Linked DNA regions of Homo sapiens: regions 1 and 2 are each linked to region 3. Evidence: promoter capture Hi-C in 16 types of primary human blood cells and fetal thymus (Javierre and others, 2016). All regions are on one chromosome and are shown on one strand. The core of a region is centred on a gene start or on the middle of the fragment in contact, and the rest is flanking DNA. Distances in the headings are between cores, read along the strand shown. Region 1 holds the start of NDUFB3 (NADH:ubiquinone oxidoreductase subunit B3). Region 2 overlaps TMEM237 (transmembrane protein 237). Region 3 holds the start of FLACC1 (flagellum associated containing coiled-coil domains 1).

The links. The method cuts DNA at HindIII sites, captures the fragments that hold promoters and counts their contacts. A CHiCAGO score of 5 or more calls a contact.
Region 1: a contact is called between the fragment with the promoter of NDUFB3 here and the fragment with the promoter of FLACC1 in region 3, in 13 of 17 cell types (total B cells, naive CD8 T cells, neutrophils and 10 more). The highest score is 18.8, in total B cells.
Region 2: a contact is called between a fragment that was not itself captured here and the fragment with the promoter of FLACC1 in region 3, in 2 of 17 cell types (endothelial precursors and erythroblasts). The highest score is 5.9, in endothelial precursors.

Annotation. Positions count from the first base shown.
Region 1 is chr2:201,069,944-201,074,285 of GRCh38, reverse strand. It overlaps NDUFB3 (NADH:ubiquinone oxidoreductase subunit B3), which reads right to left and starts at 2,285. Exons shown (of 3, transcript NM_002491.3): 1 at 2,227-2,285. It overlaps HYCC2 (hyccin PI4KA lipid kinase complex subunit 2), which reads left to right and starts at 2,615. Exons shown (of 13, transcript NM_001321623.1): 1 at 2,615-2,676. RefSeq lists enhancers at 1,763-2,386, 2,523-2,612, 2,633-2,902, 2,387-3,012, 3,003-3,142. The HindIII fragment of the contact is 13,158 bases long and covers 1-4,342 here.
Region 2 is chr2:201,636,266-201,640,675 of GRCh38, reverse strand. TMEM237 (transmembrane protein 237) reads left to right here. Exons shown (of 13, transcript NM_001044385.3): 3 at 411-415; 4 at 1,631-1,687; 5 at 3,791-3,928. Among named protein-coding and RNA genes, the nearest start is that of TMEM237, 5.0 kb to the left of the region's middle. The HindIII fragment of the contact is 591 bases long and covers 2,133-2,723 here.
Region 3 is chr2:201,355,601-201,360,118 of GRCh38, reverse strand. It overlaps FLACC1 (flagellum associated containing coiled-coil domains 1), which reads left to right and starts at 2,774. Exons shown (of 15, transcript NM_001127391.3): 1 at 2,774-3,137. The HindIII fragment of the contact is 10,294 bases long and covers 5-4,518 here.

The DNA.
Region 1 (4,342 bases), core at 1,036-3,535, 290 kb after region 3:
ATCGTTATTAGAAAATATTAATGTGTCTTTGGAGGCCAGGAGCGGTGGCTCACGCCTGTAATCCCAGCACTTTGGGAGGCTGAGGCAGGTGGAACACCTGAGGTCAGGAGTTCAAGAAAAGCCTAACCAACATGGCAAAATCCCGTCTCTACTAAAAATAAAAAAATTAGCTGGGCATGGTAGCACATGCCTGTAGTTCCAGCTATTAGGGAGGGTGAGACAGAAGAATCACTTGAACCTGGGAGGTGAAGATTGCACTAAGCCGAGATCGCGCCACTGCACTCCAGCCTGGGCGACAGAGCGAGACTCTGTCTCAAAAAATATACAAATAAAATAAATAAATAAAAGTGTCTTTGGAACAATTTGGATATATGAATCTACTTTATCAACTGTAAATCTTATAAACATAATCACAGATCAAAGGTTTATATTTATGGAATATAAAAAATATATTTAAAATATTTTCTTAGAGACATCAAGCCTCTAGTCTTTAAAAAAAAACAAATTTTTTTTTTGAGATGGAGTATCACTCTGTCGCCAGGCTGGAGTGCAGTGGGTGGTGCAATGTCGGCTCACTGCAACCTCCGCCTCCCAGGTTCTAGTGATTCTCCTGCCTCAGCCTACCGAGTAGCTGGGATTACAGGCGTGCACCACCACACCCGGCTAATTTTTTGTACTTTTAGTAGAGACTGGGTTTCACCATGTTGGTCAGAATGGTCTCGATCTCTGGACCTCATTATCCGCCTGCCTCGGCCACCCAAAGTGTTGGGATTACAGGCGTGAGCCACCGTGCCCAGCCTAAGAAATATGTTTTTAAAAGAACCTTTATAGCCACATTGTTTATTCTCTCTCCCAACTGTAAACAACCCAAATGTCCAATAACAATAGAAGGGATTATGGTATAGTCACACTGTAGAATATTATACAACAAAAAACTACATGCAAAAGTGTGATTGAATCTCCACAAATATGGATAATGAGCAAGGGGTGAGTCAGAAAAAAATACACATGCACTCTGAACCCATTTATATAGATTGAAATGCCTAACAATTCATTTTTTAGGAATTCATCATAGACGGAAAAATTAAAGTAAAACAAGTGAGTGCTTAGCACAAGTCAGGATAATGGTTACCTCTTGGTGGAGGAGATGGAATCACAGAAACATACTGGGAGATTCTAAGGCAGTGTTTTTCAACCAATTTTTAACTATTGTCCCTGTAAGGAACCTTTCTAGACATTTTATTCCTAATCACACCCCCCGCCATGAAAATTTAACACTACATATATACTGTATAACTGTTTATATACTGTGGCCCTTTGGAGGGACACAAATCATTGTAGTAACTAAGATTCCGACCCCGGCCCCACCAATTTTCAACCCCTTGAAATGTAAAATCACCCCTGTTAAGACTGCATGTTCTAAGTTATTGGCAATGCTTTATTTTCTAATCTAAGAGGTGGATACAGGAGTGTCTGCTTCTGTTAGTTATAATTTTTTAAAATGTATGTTTTATACACCCTTCTGTATATATACTTGACAATAAAAAATAAAAATAGAAAAATTGACTTAAATTGTGCTGAGGACTGAAAAATGGTGGTTATTTCCGTTTCAGAGCAGCTCAAATAATAACAGTAAGGAAATTAGTTAAATAAAGAAAAAACATGCAACCAAAAATTTTAAAAGCTATCTATGTCTGAAGTGAATCTAAAAGTCTCATGAAGATCAACCTCCACTAAAGGAAGCTGGCTCTAAGAAAATGTGCTGGTATCCTTTCCCTAAGAAAGAAATAAGAAGATAATGCTACTTCCACTACATGCAATTTTAGTTTACCGAAGACTATCAAGTATATATCTTAACTTCCTCGTATTAAAAACTGTGATTATATGAATATTAGAACATAAAAAACAAATGAACTGTTATTACTTTTAGTGATGCTGTTCTTCTGCCTTTGCGATCCAAAGGCAAACAAAGACAATTTTGCGTGTGGCAGAAGCGGGAACAAGCACCTGGATTTAACAACTACAGTAATGATCACTGAATCCTCCAACCACCTCTTCCTACCCCAACTCTAAACTAGGACTTCATTAGTTCTCGCCTGCTAGTTCTTTGATCTCCCTCCCAGCCTCCCATCCTTCTCCATTTAGTCTCTCCTTTTCTGCACTCCCCAGAATAGAGTCTAGCTCTTAATCCTAATCAACGGGCCTCCCACCAACTCCCTAATTTACCTGACAGCAATCTGACCTCTCAGGACACTCAACTCTGCAACCGGAGCCAACCGGAAACGGAGGTTGTCACCTCGAGTTTCTCACGGCAGGAAAGCGGAGAAGCCGCTTAACGTTCCGATACTGGGTTAGAGATTCCTGAATCAGGTAGAGACTACATGAGGGACGCTGGAAGTCGATTATTTTCCCAGTATATGTGCATCCTCAATCTGACTGAGGTAACAGATACTGTAGAAAAGAGAAGGGCGGGGAAGATAATATGTTGTCCTTGCTTGGGGACGGAATCCTTAGACACCGCACACAGGGCGGGGCTGCCGGCATACTGCAGCCAATAAGGGAGGCTGTTGTTGAGAGCGTGTTCTCACCCAATGAGAGGGTTGGTTGTTGCGCTGCAGTTGGCAGGCTGCTGCGGGAGGCGGCGGCGGTAGGAAGCCGGAGACAGCAGGGTGACAGGTAGGCGGCGGTGCTGTCTTTGGGGGAGGCAAAGTGCTAGATGAAGAGGGGTTTTCTTCTCCTTCGGCCGCGGAAACTACAGACGGGAGCTGGCGAGGGTGGTCTGGAAAGGCGGTAGCCGGTGTGTTGGTGGTCCCGGAACCTCTCGTAAACCAGGTAGCATCTTGGGAGGGTCGTGAGGAGGAGAAGGCGGCAGCCGAGGCGGGTGGAAGCCGAGCCTTGTGGGGCGACGTGGGGGCCCACCTAGGGCGTGGGGGCTGCGGTGGCGCCAGCAGAGAGGGAGGAGAGGCGGGAGCAAGGCGGTGTCGTGAGGGCTGAAGGGATTCTTTGCACAAAGCCCCAGGCGAGAAAAGGACACGGCATTGAAGACAGTTAAGAGAAATCCCAGTGATTGCTTCTTAGGGCCATTTCCTGGGGGTGGTGAGGGGGAGCGGAGAAGAAAAATATTTACTGGCGGTCAGATTCTGAACACTCATTATTGCTGTACATTATGTAATCTTTGGCTGTTATTTACCCAAACAACTAGGTTGTCCCTCCTGGGAGAGGAGGTCTTGCAACCTATTAATGTGTTAGAACACTTTTTTCATTGGCTTGAGTGCCATTTACATTGGCAGGTTCTCTAGGCGAAGGGTGGTAGCATGGAGGATAGAGTAGTCACGAAGAGCTTATCCCAATTATGGACTTGACAGATACTAGTTTGCGATGAATGTGGCCAGGTTCATGTTTTGTAGTTCGTGAATTTATTTGAGGGTCAAGGCTGACAACATTTTTTAAAGATCTTCAGAAAAGTGGGGAATCCTTTAAAAATGTACAGTAGGAGCTCAGTGTAAGTTGGAAAATGACTAGAAAATTAGTTGGTAGATCCCTTCCTCCCCCCAGGATATTGTGGAAGTTAGGGACTGTGCAAATAAGGTGGTGGTCTGAATATGGGGAAAAAAATAAACTTTTTTTTTTTTTGAGACGGAGTTTCGCTGTTGTTGCCCAGGCTGGAGTGCAATGGCGCGATCTCGGCTCACAGCAACCTTCGCCTCCCGGGTTCAAGCCATTCTCCTGCCCCAGCCTCCGGAGTAGCTGGGATTACAGGCATGCGCCACCACGCCCGACTAATTTTGTATTTTTAGTAGATACGGGGTTTCTCCATGTTGGTCAGGCTGGTCTCGAACTCCGGACGTCAGATGATCCGCCCGCCTCGGCCTCCCAAAGTGCTGGGATTACAGGCGTGAGCCACCGTGCCCGGCAGAAAAAAGTCAACTTTTAAGTAGTTTGTTCTGTAAGCAAGTCTGAGAAGCTACTTATGAATTATTTATTAGGTTTAAAAAGTGGACTCTGAACCTCTCGGACAGAGGCAAAATATATTTATAGATATAATTAACTAAATTATCTTATTTAAAAAAATTTTATAATTCATTGTTTCCACAATAAAATGTAGAATTAAAATAGGAATTCTATTCAGTATGTGTTATGGAAGGGCAAACGACATAAAAACTTGATTTTGTAGGTCATTGAAAAACAATTTTGAGAGCAGCACTGGAAAATGATTTTAAAAGAAGTGTTATAAATTTCTAAAATGTAAGGTGTTTGAAATATTGCCTTTAGCTTAGGAGATAAGGTCTAATGTAGTGTCAGCAACTCTACAATTTTCCTAAATTTATTTCGGTACTGCATG
Region 2 (4,410 bases), core at 1,179-3,678, 280 kb before region 3:
GTAGGATAATGGATCCATTCCCTTTCTAACTGTTTTGGTGTCTTTTTTTTTTTAAATCAGAATTCTGGTCTTTTGTGAGAATAGTTTCCTCAGAGTTTAAGCTGATTTTAATCAGTCACAAGTAAGAGTTCTTAATCTGCTTAATCCATTTTATTAATAGACAGTAGGGAATATGTATATGTAGGTTCAGAAAATATTGACATTATTTTATTAGCAGTGTTATTAAACCACTTAATTATAAACAGTAAACTAGTTTGTAAACTAGCTATTATGTGAAAGCTAATTTTATTTTAAATTTGTAATGATTTAAGTCAATTTTCACTGTGAATATTAACAGGTTTCTAATTAATTGTTTCTTTTTTGTCTTTGTCCTGCTGATTAAATTTGTTTGGTGTTATATGACGTGTTAGTCAAGGTGAGTTAGTTTAATGTAAATATAATATTTGGTGTTCAAAAATTAGTTTGATTCCTTGGTTTGTTTCTCTTAAAACTGAGTCTGAATGGTGTAATTTGTAATTCTACAATATGTTTTTGTGAAATAATCTCCCATGACTACCATTTAAAAATTGTCATTGATACATAGCACTAGATGACCTTTCCATTATAAAAGCACTTCATCCCTGAATGGGGTCACCCAGCACATAACTGTTGGCTAATTTGTAGCTCTATAATGAGGACTGCACCTTCCTTTGTCTCATTTAGTCAGGGTAGACAAGGTTATACTATACTAAAACCCCCAAATCTCAGTGACTTAGTGTCACACAGGGTTATTTCTAATTAATACAAAGTCTGCTATGGCAAAAATGGGGGACCATTACCTTTCACTACCTTTTTACTATTGATATAGCAATCTAGGCTACTTTTTTTTTTCTTTTGTTTTGAGACAGAGTCTCACTCTGTTGCCCAGGCTGGAGTGCAGTGGTGTGATCTCGGCTCACTGCAATCTCTGCCTCCTGGGTTCAAGTCATTCTCCTGCCTCAGCCTCCTGAGTAGTTGGGATTACAGGCGTGTGCCACCATGCCCAGCTACTTTTTGTATTTTCAGTAGAGACAGGGTTTTGCCATGTTGGCCAGGCTGGTGTCGAACTCCTGAGCTCAAGTGATCTGCCTGTCTTGGCCTCCCAAAGTGTTGGGATTACAGGTGTGAGCCACTGCGCCTGGTCTGCAATCTAGGCTACTTCTGTGCTGTGGTCCCACCATCTTAACATGAGGCTTCCTCAGTCACCACAACAAGGGAAGAGAAAGCTGGAAGATTACTCACTGGCTCTTTCAACGTTTGGCTCTGAAATGACACAGATCACTTCTGCTCACAGCCTATAGGCCAGAACCAGTCATAGACTACACCTATGTGCAAGGAGGCTGGGAAATATAGGGGATCAGATGAATATTTGTTGAACCCACTTTCTGTGTCATGGTTTCTAACATTACTGACATGCAGTGTGCTACTGGTACCACACTGTGGGCTCTCTCTGATCTTCTCAATTTCTTGCCTTCTTCCCCTAATCTATAAACGTTTGCCAGGCCCAGGGAAGAGAGGGAGAATTCTTCCCTGTTTAAAAGTTCTCTTCTGACTGTTCTCTGCATTGAATTTTAGGCACCCTTTTCTGTTGACGTTTTTTCTTGCTTTATAGATGATATTCCACTTAGTCGTCCTAAGAAAAAGAAGCCCAGAACAAAAAACACACCAGGTAAGACGTTATTCTTTGTTGTGTGGGATCACAAGTTTTCCCAGGACCTCAGGCGTAGTAAACATCACAGATAAGGGAGAATTAAGGCCCCAGCAGCCCCGAATCTCCACTTCATTGAGGATAGAATTAAGGCCAGTTTGAAGCAGTGGAATTCCTGGTGGTGGTGAGGTACAGGGCAGTGGGCAGCCTGAGGAGTATCTGGACGCATTCATGGAATAGAAGGTGGTGCCATCTAAGCTCCTATTTCCATGATATTCCTGGACTCTTTAAGGTCTTTTATCCCCAGACAACATACATGGTTTTAAGCTATGATTGATTCCAGACCCTTGAACAAGATACTGAATTTAGAAACACAGAGTTCTTAAATCTCACTTCAATCAGAATATCTCTACATTACAGCATGAGTCTGAAGGCATGGCCACATCATCATTTAAATAGTAAAGCTTCAGTCATGAGCAGAACTCGTTTTTGTCTTAGTCATCCACTGATAATCCTGGAAGTTGCATCCGTAACTCTAAACTCAGCACATCTAGAATCCATCGTTGCCTTTAAGAATAAATAATTTTTTTACGTCTCATGATTTTCTGTTAATGGAACCTACCATTTTCCCAGCCCTCAGGCCTGAAACCTCAAGATTATCTTTACCTGATCCTTTAACTTCACTCTTTACTTGAGACCTCTCACACTCCTAAAAGGTTTCTGTGGTTGCTGCTCCTTTTTTAAAACAAACAAACAACAACAAAAACATAAAAGGAATCATACATACTATCTTTGTTTCTTAATACATAGAGTTCTATGTATTCTTAAACAGTGACTTCATTGTATTACATGATAAGAATGTACCATAATCACTGCTCTGTTATTTATTTAGGTTATTTCCAATTTTTCACTCCAACAATGTTGCAGTTCTGCATAAAATAGTGGGTGGTAGGGAAGAAGTACTTCTGTAGGATGGATTGCTAGCAGTGGAATTGCTAGGTGCAGGATGTGTGCATTATTAGTATGACTGACTCTGCTAAATTACCTTAAGGAAGCTTTAGTTATTATCTTGCTACCTGTAGAGTCTGAGAGTGTCTCATTCTCTAAATCCTTAACAACATTGGACAATAATCAATCTTTAAAATTTTTTTGTTAATTTAGTGGGGGAAAAGTAGCTTATTTTAGTTTACATTTCTCTATGTACTACTGAGGTTAAACATTTTCATTTGTTTATTGATACATTTCTATTTTTTTTTTTTTTTTTTGAGACGGAGTCTTGCTCTGTTGCCCAGGCTGGAGTGCAATGGTGTGATCTTGGCTCCCTGCAACCTCCACCTCCTGGGTTCAAGCGATTCTCCTGCCTCGGCCTCCTTGAGTAGCTGGGACTACAGGCGCATGCCACTACACCCGGCTAATTTTTGTATTTTTAGTAGAGAGGGAGTTTTGCCATGTTGGTCAGGCTGGTTTCGAACTCTTGACCTCATGTGATCCGCCTGCTTTGGCCTCCCAAAGTGCTGGGATTCCAGGCATGAGCCACTGCACCCAGTGCAATTTCTATTTCTTTTGTGAAGAAGACAAGCAAGGAAGGGAATGCAGTCAGGTATGTGTTAAAATTCTTTTAAAAGATTTCATGAGGGAAGAAGTTGAAGTGAATGACCAAATGAAGAGACTTATAAATTACCTGCTAACTCCAATTATCCATGATGACTTTATTATTCTTTAACTTATTAATGAAGGACTTTACTATATAGAGGCTGATGAAAATTCTTAAGGCAAGAGGCAAGTAAGAGAATTCTCTATGGTATCAGTTTTTATTATGTTTTCCACCTTTTTCAAAGTTCTAAATGTTCTGAAGCAATTTCTCCTCCTCCTGTCTTTTGCTCTTCTTTTTAGCCCCCTCGTTTTTTCTTCCTCAGCCTTTCTTATTCCTTCATTTATTTCTTTTCCTAACTTAAAGCCCAAAGTTACAGGTGAGGAGGAAGGAAAGATTTGGGGGATAATTAGTTCTGAAAGAGATGGGGTTATTCTATAGGAAACATTCTAGTTACCTTTTCCTCCATCTTTTTAAGATTCAGTGATCTTTGCTCAAGTAATCTCATTTTTTTCTACTCTGTTTTTCTATAGCAAGTGCTTCTTTGGAAGGCCTTGCTCAGACTGCTGGTCGAAGGCCCTCTGAGGGCAATGAGCCATCAACTAAAGAACTCAAAGAGCACCCAGAGGCTCCTGTTCAAAGAAGACAGAAAAAGACAAGGCTACCTCTTGGTATGTGAAGAAACCAAGGTTAAGTTGTGATAGCACTTGTGATTTTGATGACATGATAAAAACCTCTCTGCTTTCATTTCTTTCCCCCTATCCATATCCCACAGGTGGTTTCTTGCTTTTATGTTTAAAATATTTACCACTAGAATAACTCCAATGGCTTAAGCCAAGAATACTTTACAGGTCTCTTTTGATCATATATGTATAGATTATGAGAGGAGGGCAACAAATACAGGACTAAACAGAAAGTTCAGATCTCAGTGCATAGAAAAATCTAGTAAATGATGAAATGGACATTTCAGATTAGTGGGGAAATGGTAGATTCTGTACTAACAATAATATAGTGAAACAACAGCTAACATTTGTTTAGTCTTTCTATGTCCCAGGCAGTTCACAAGGTAAATAAAATACTATACCATTTTTTGGCCTATCAAATTGGCAATGCTTTTTTCAAATTATAAAATCCAATATTGATGGGAAATGGG
Region 3 (4,518 bases), core at 1,525-4,024:
AGCTTTACTCATGTCCAAAAAGATGAAAGGAGAATGGGGATACCCAAGTAGTAGTAATTAGTGCTGAGCCTTTGCCAAGTCGAGTGGCTGGGGTATTCCTTCAGCACTTACTTCCTCTGTATCTCTGTTTTTAGCCATGCTTCACTCAAGACCCAAATCCTGCTGCTTTTTTTTTTTAATCATAAGAAAGGATTTAAATATAAAATTTTACACATTAAACACACTCAAAGTAAATATTCAATCTCTGGATGGAGACAGATTGTCTAGATGACTAATAGAGTCTATCAATTCTTCTCTAAGTTATTTCCCTCCTTTTAATCTTTGAAAGTCTCTCTTCATCTAGCCTGTTCATGGTGCTCAGAGTTGAAGCAGCCATAGTGCAACCAAGACGCTTCCCTCCATCAACACACCGAGGCTGGCATAACAGAGAGATGGAAAGAGCCCAGTTCTCCAAGGACATTGCTGAATCTTTGCACCAACTCTGATAGCACTGCCTCCAGACTCTATTTCATGAGGTTAATAAACCTCTTTGATGTAAGCCACTTGCAATCAAGCAACAGGTCTATGCATTTTAACTACACATGGCCCACACTGAGAAATCTTGTCGTAAATACTGGTGTCCTCAGAGCTCTGTTCTAGACCCTCTTCTCTCCTTACACAATACTCTCTCTATATGTGATCTCACTCGCTCCCTTGGCTTGGAATAGTATCCACTCTGAAGACTCCTAAATCTGCTTCTAGGCCAGAATCTTCCTCTGAACTTCTAAAATATGTAAGAAACTCTAACAGACGTCACCACTTGTCTATTAGTCTCCCTGCACCTCAACATATCCAAAACTGAACTAATAATCTGCTCCCTAGAACCTGTTTATCCCTCCACACTTTCCTATCTCAATAAATGGCACCACGGTCAACTCAATTGCTCGAGCTGGAAAGCCAGGAATCATCACCTTCTCCTTTTCGCTCATCCCAGCATCCAGTCAATCACCAAGTTCTATCATGTCTTCTCTCCATCCCCACTGCTGCTCCTCAGTCAGGGCCATCGTCAGGTCCCATGACGACCACTGCCACAGACTTTTACCTGGTTTTCCTGGCCCTTCCAATTGCTTCCCTATATTGCAGTCAGAATGATCTTTCTGATATGTAGATCTAGTCAGATCTCTTCTCTGTTTAACACTGCTGCCTGACTCACTGGACTAGAAGAGTAACTCCTGCTATGAACTCCCACTGCTTCTGGCAAGTCTCAATATGAGTCATTGTGGCTGCATGGTGACTTACACCTGTAATCCCAGCACTTTGGGAGGCCGAAGCAGGAGGATCACTTGAATTCAGGAGTACAAGACCAGCCTGGACAACATAGCAAGGCCTCATGTATACTAAAAGTCAAAAAAATTAGCTGGGCGGCCGGGCGCAGTGGCTCACGCCTGTAATCCCAGCACTTTGGGAGGCCGAGGCGGGCGGATCACGAGGTCAGGAGATCGAGACCATCCCGGCTAAAACGGTGAAACCCCGTCTCTACTAAAAATACAAAAAAATTAGCCGGGCGTAGTGGCGGGCGCCTGTAGTCCCAGCTACTTGGGAGGCTGAGGCAGGAGAATGGCGTGAACCCGGGAGGCGGAGCTTGCAGTGAGCCGAGATCCCGCCACTGCACTCCAGCCTGGGTGACAGAGCGAGACTCCGTCTCAAAAAAAAAAAAAAAAAAAAAAATTAGCTGGGCATGGTGCTGTGCACCTGTGTAGTCCCATCTACTTGGGAGTCTGAGGCAGAAGGATCGCTTGAGTCCAGGAGGTCAAGGCTGCAGTGAGCTATGCATGCAGCCTGCACTGCCACTGCCACTGCACCGCAGCCTGGGTAACAGAGTGAGCTACTGTCTCAAAGGAAAAAAAAATTAATTATGCTTTTATTGAGCTTTTTTATTGTCTGTTTTCTCATTGGTCTCTAAGTTGTATTGAGTATAAGAACTGAGGTATATCCCCACACCTAGCAATAGTGCCTGGCACACAGTAGACAACAAATGTGAAGTTGAGTGAATAGATGAATTTATAACAATATTTTGTAAGCTAGGGGTTGTGACCCACCAGGATCATGAAATCAATCTAGTGGATTATAATCAGCTTTAATTTAAAGAAGAAAAAGAAATAGAAGAGAATAGCAAATAATAAGAGTATTATTTCATGAAATTTTTTTATTACAAAATTTGTAAAATGTATTTCTTATAATGAGTGGCAGTAAAACTAAAATGAAAGCCACTGGGTTGTAATAAGCAAGTACTTTTTTCTATAGTAAGAAAAAGCAGCTTTATTTAAAAAAAAAAATCGGAAAACCTTGTGACTGCAAAAGATTCCTGCCTTGGGGGATTTTTACTTTCACAGATTTCAAAGCCTTAAACTCGAGGGAAAAAAGTGTCTAGAGTTTTAGGTTTCTGTGAGTAGATCACAGAGGAATTAAAAATCCATCACAGATCCTGCCTGGTAACTATTGCCATAGACCAATGAAGCCTAAAAGTGCTGTTGAATTCTATTTCCTCTGAAGATATATCTTAAACTTTTTTGTCCCATGACTGATGACGAAAGTGGAAATCCAGTGTTAAAAGTATGAATTCTTTGCTGTTGAGGGTGGTCACTGATTTGTGTCTTGGAGAATTTAATTGGCTGTTTCTCCCAACCTTCTCTCTTGAAGAAAAGAGCCCTGAGCCAATGAGGAGCTACTGTTCTGTGTCCATAGCAACAAAATAAACAAACTTTGGCCTGCCATCTCCCAAGGGCAAACCTCACAACTCAGGCCCAAGTCACAGGAATCTGAATGGTGGGGTGACCTTCTCCTCTAGTTTAATTTCATTGCAATACTGAGAAACTTCAACTGTTTTGTCTTTAGAAGGGAAATTCATGTTTGTGCCAGGCCAGCCTTTGTAAAAGCCTTTGATTGGATTCACTAGAAGTCTGTCTTCCCGCAGTACATATACTGTGAATTTTCTCCTTCGGCATTTCAACCACTTGGAATGGCCACTAAAGTGGCTTTTGATCTAAAGTAAACTCTGATTCTGTGTTGATGGGGAACCATTTCTCTCTAACATGGTGGTTTCTTTAAGATGTTTGACTTGGGCCACATGAGAATAACAGATCTTTGGGCAGTCCAAGGTAAGCTCTTTGGAAAAGATGTTTTATATTATTTTTTCTACTGATTATTAATACTAACCAGTAACTTCTCTGAAGCCTCTGCCGGCTCACTGGTGACTATTGTTAGGGCAAGCCTCAGGTAAAATCATCAGGTAGAAGTGCAGGAAAGGGAAAAAAGGGGGAGAAAAAATCCTTACACACACTCACACACCCCTCTATAATTAGAGCTATATGATGTCAAGCCACTGTAAATGCAGATCTATCTGTGATGACATGGAAATATCAACTAGATATCCTGTTACACAAAAAGAACAAGATGCAACATTGTGTGCAAAGTATGCTCTCACTTATGCAAATAATTTAAAAAATCTATTATGCTTCTCTACAGGTTAAGTTCTATATGCAAAACATTTAAGGTTATATGCACTCACAACATTTCTGGAAGGATGCCCCAAAAATCTGTTAGAAGTAGTTCCCACTTAAGAAGCTATGAGAAGTCAAGGGCTGATTTTAGCTACTGAAATATTAAAATACTGCCATATAGGCAGGGCACGGTAGCTCACACCTGTAATCCCAGCACTTTGGGAGGCTGAGATGGGTGGATCACCTGAAGTCAGGAGTTTGAGACCAGCCTGGCCAATATGGTGAAACCCCATCGTTATAAAAATACAAAAATTAGCCAGGCATGGTGGCGGGTGCCTGTAATTCCAGCTACTGGGGAAGCTGAGGCAGGAGAATCGCTTGAACCTCGGAGGTAGAGGTTGCAGTGAGCCAAGACCACACCATTGCACTCCAGCCTAGGCAACAAGAGCAAAACTCCGTCTCAAAACAATAATAATAATAAATAAAATACTGTCATATTGATTGGTAGATGACCATTGTCCAAGCCCCTTGCATGTCCTCCTTGCCACCTTGGTTGTCCCAACTCCTCCCCTGGCACCCCCAGACCACCTCATGATTCAGCAACTAAGGGGTTAATGCCTGGCATGGAGGTGGGAGTGAGATCTCCCAGGACCCTGTTCCAACCCTGGTTGATTATTCAATAGCCTTGTCTTACTGGTTGTTAAATATTTTGAGTATCACTCCCATGGGTGTTCAAAGAAAAAGGCCTTTATTTTTATTTTATTTATTTATTTATTTTTTAGAGACAGGGTCTTGTGCTGTCACCCAGGCTGAAATGCAGTGGTGTGGTCCTAGCTCACTGCAACTTCAAACTCCTGGCCTCAAGTGATCCTCCCGCACCACCTGCCAAGTGGCTGGGACTACAGGCACACTCCACCATACTAGGCTATTTTTAAAATTTTTTGTAGATACAGAGTCTCGATATGTTTCCCAGGCTGGTCTCAAACTCCTAGCCTCAAGCGACTCTCCCACCTCAGTCTCTCAAAGTGTTGGGATTACA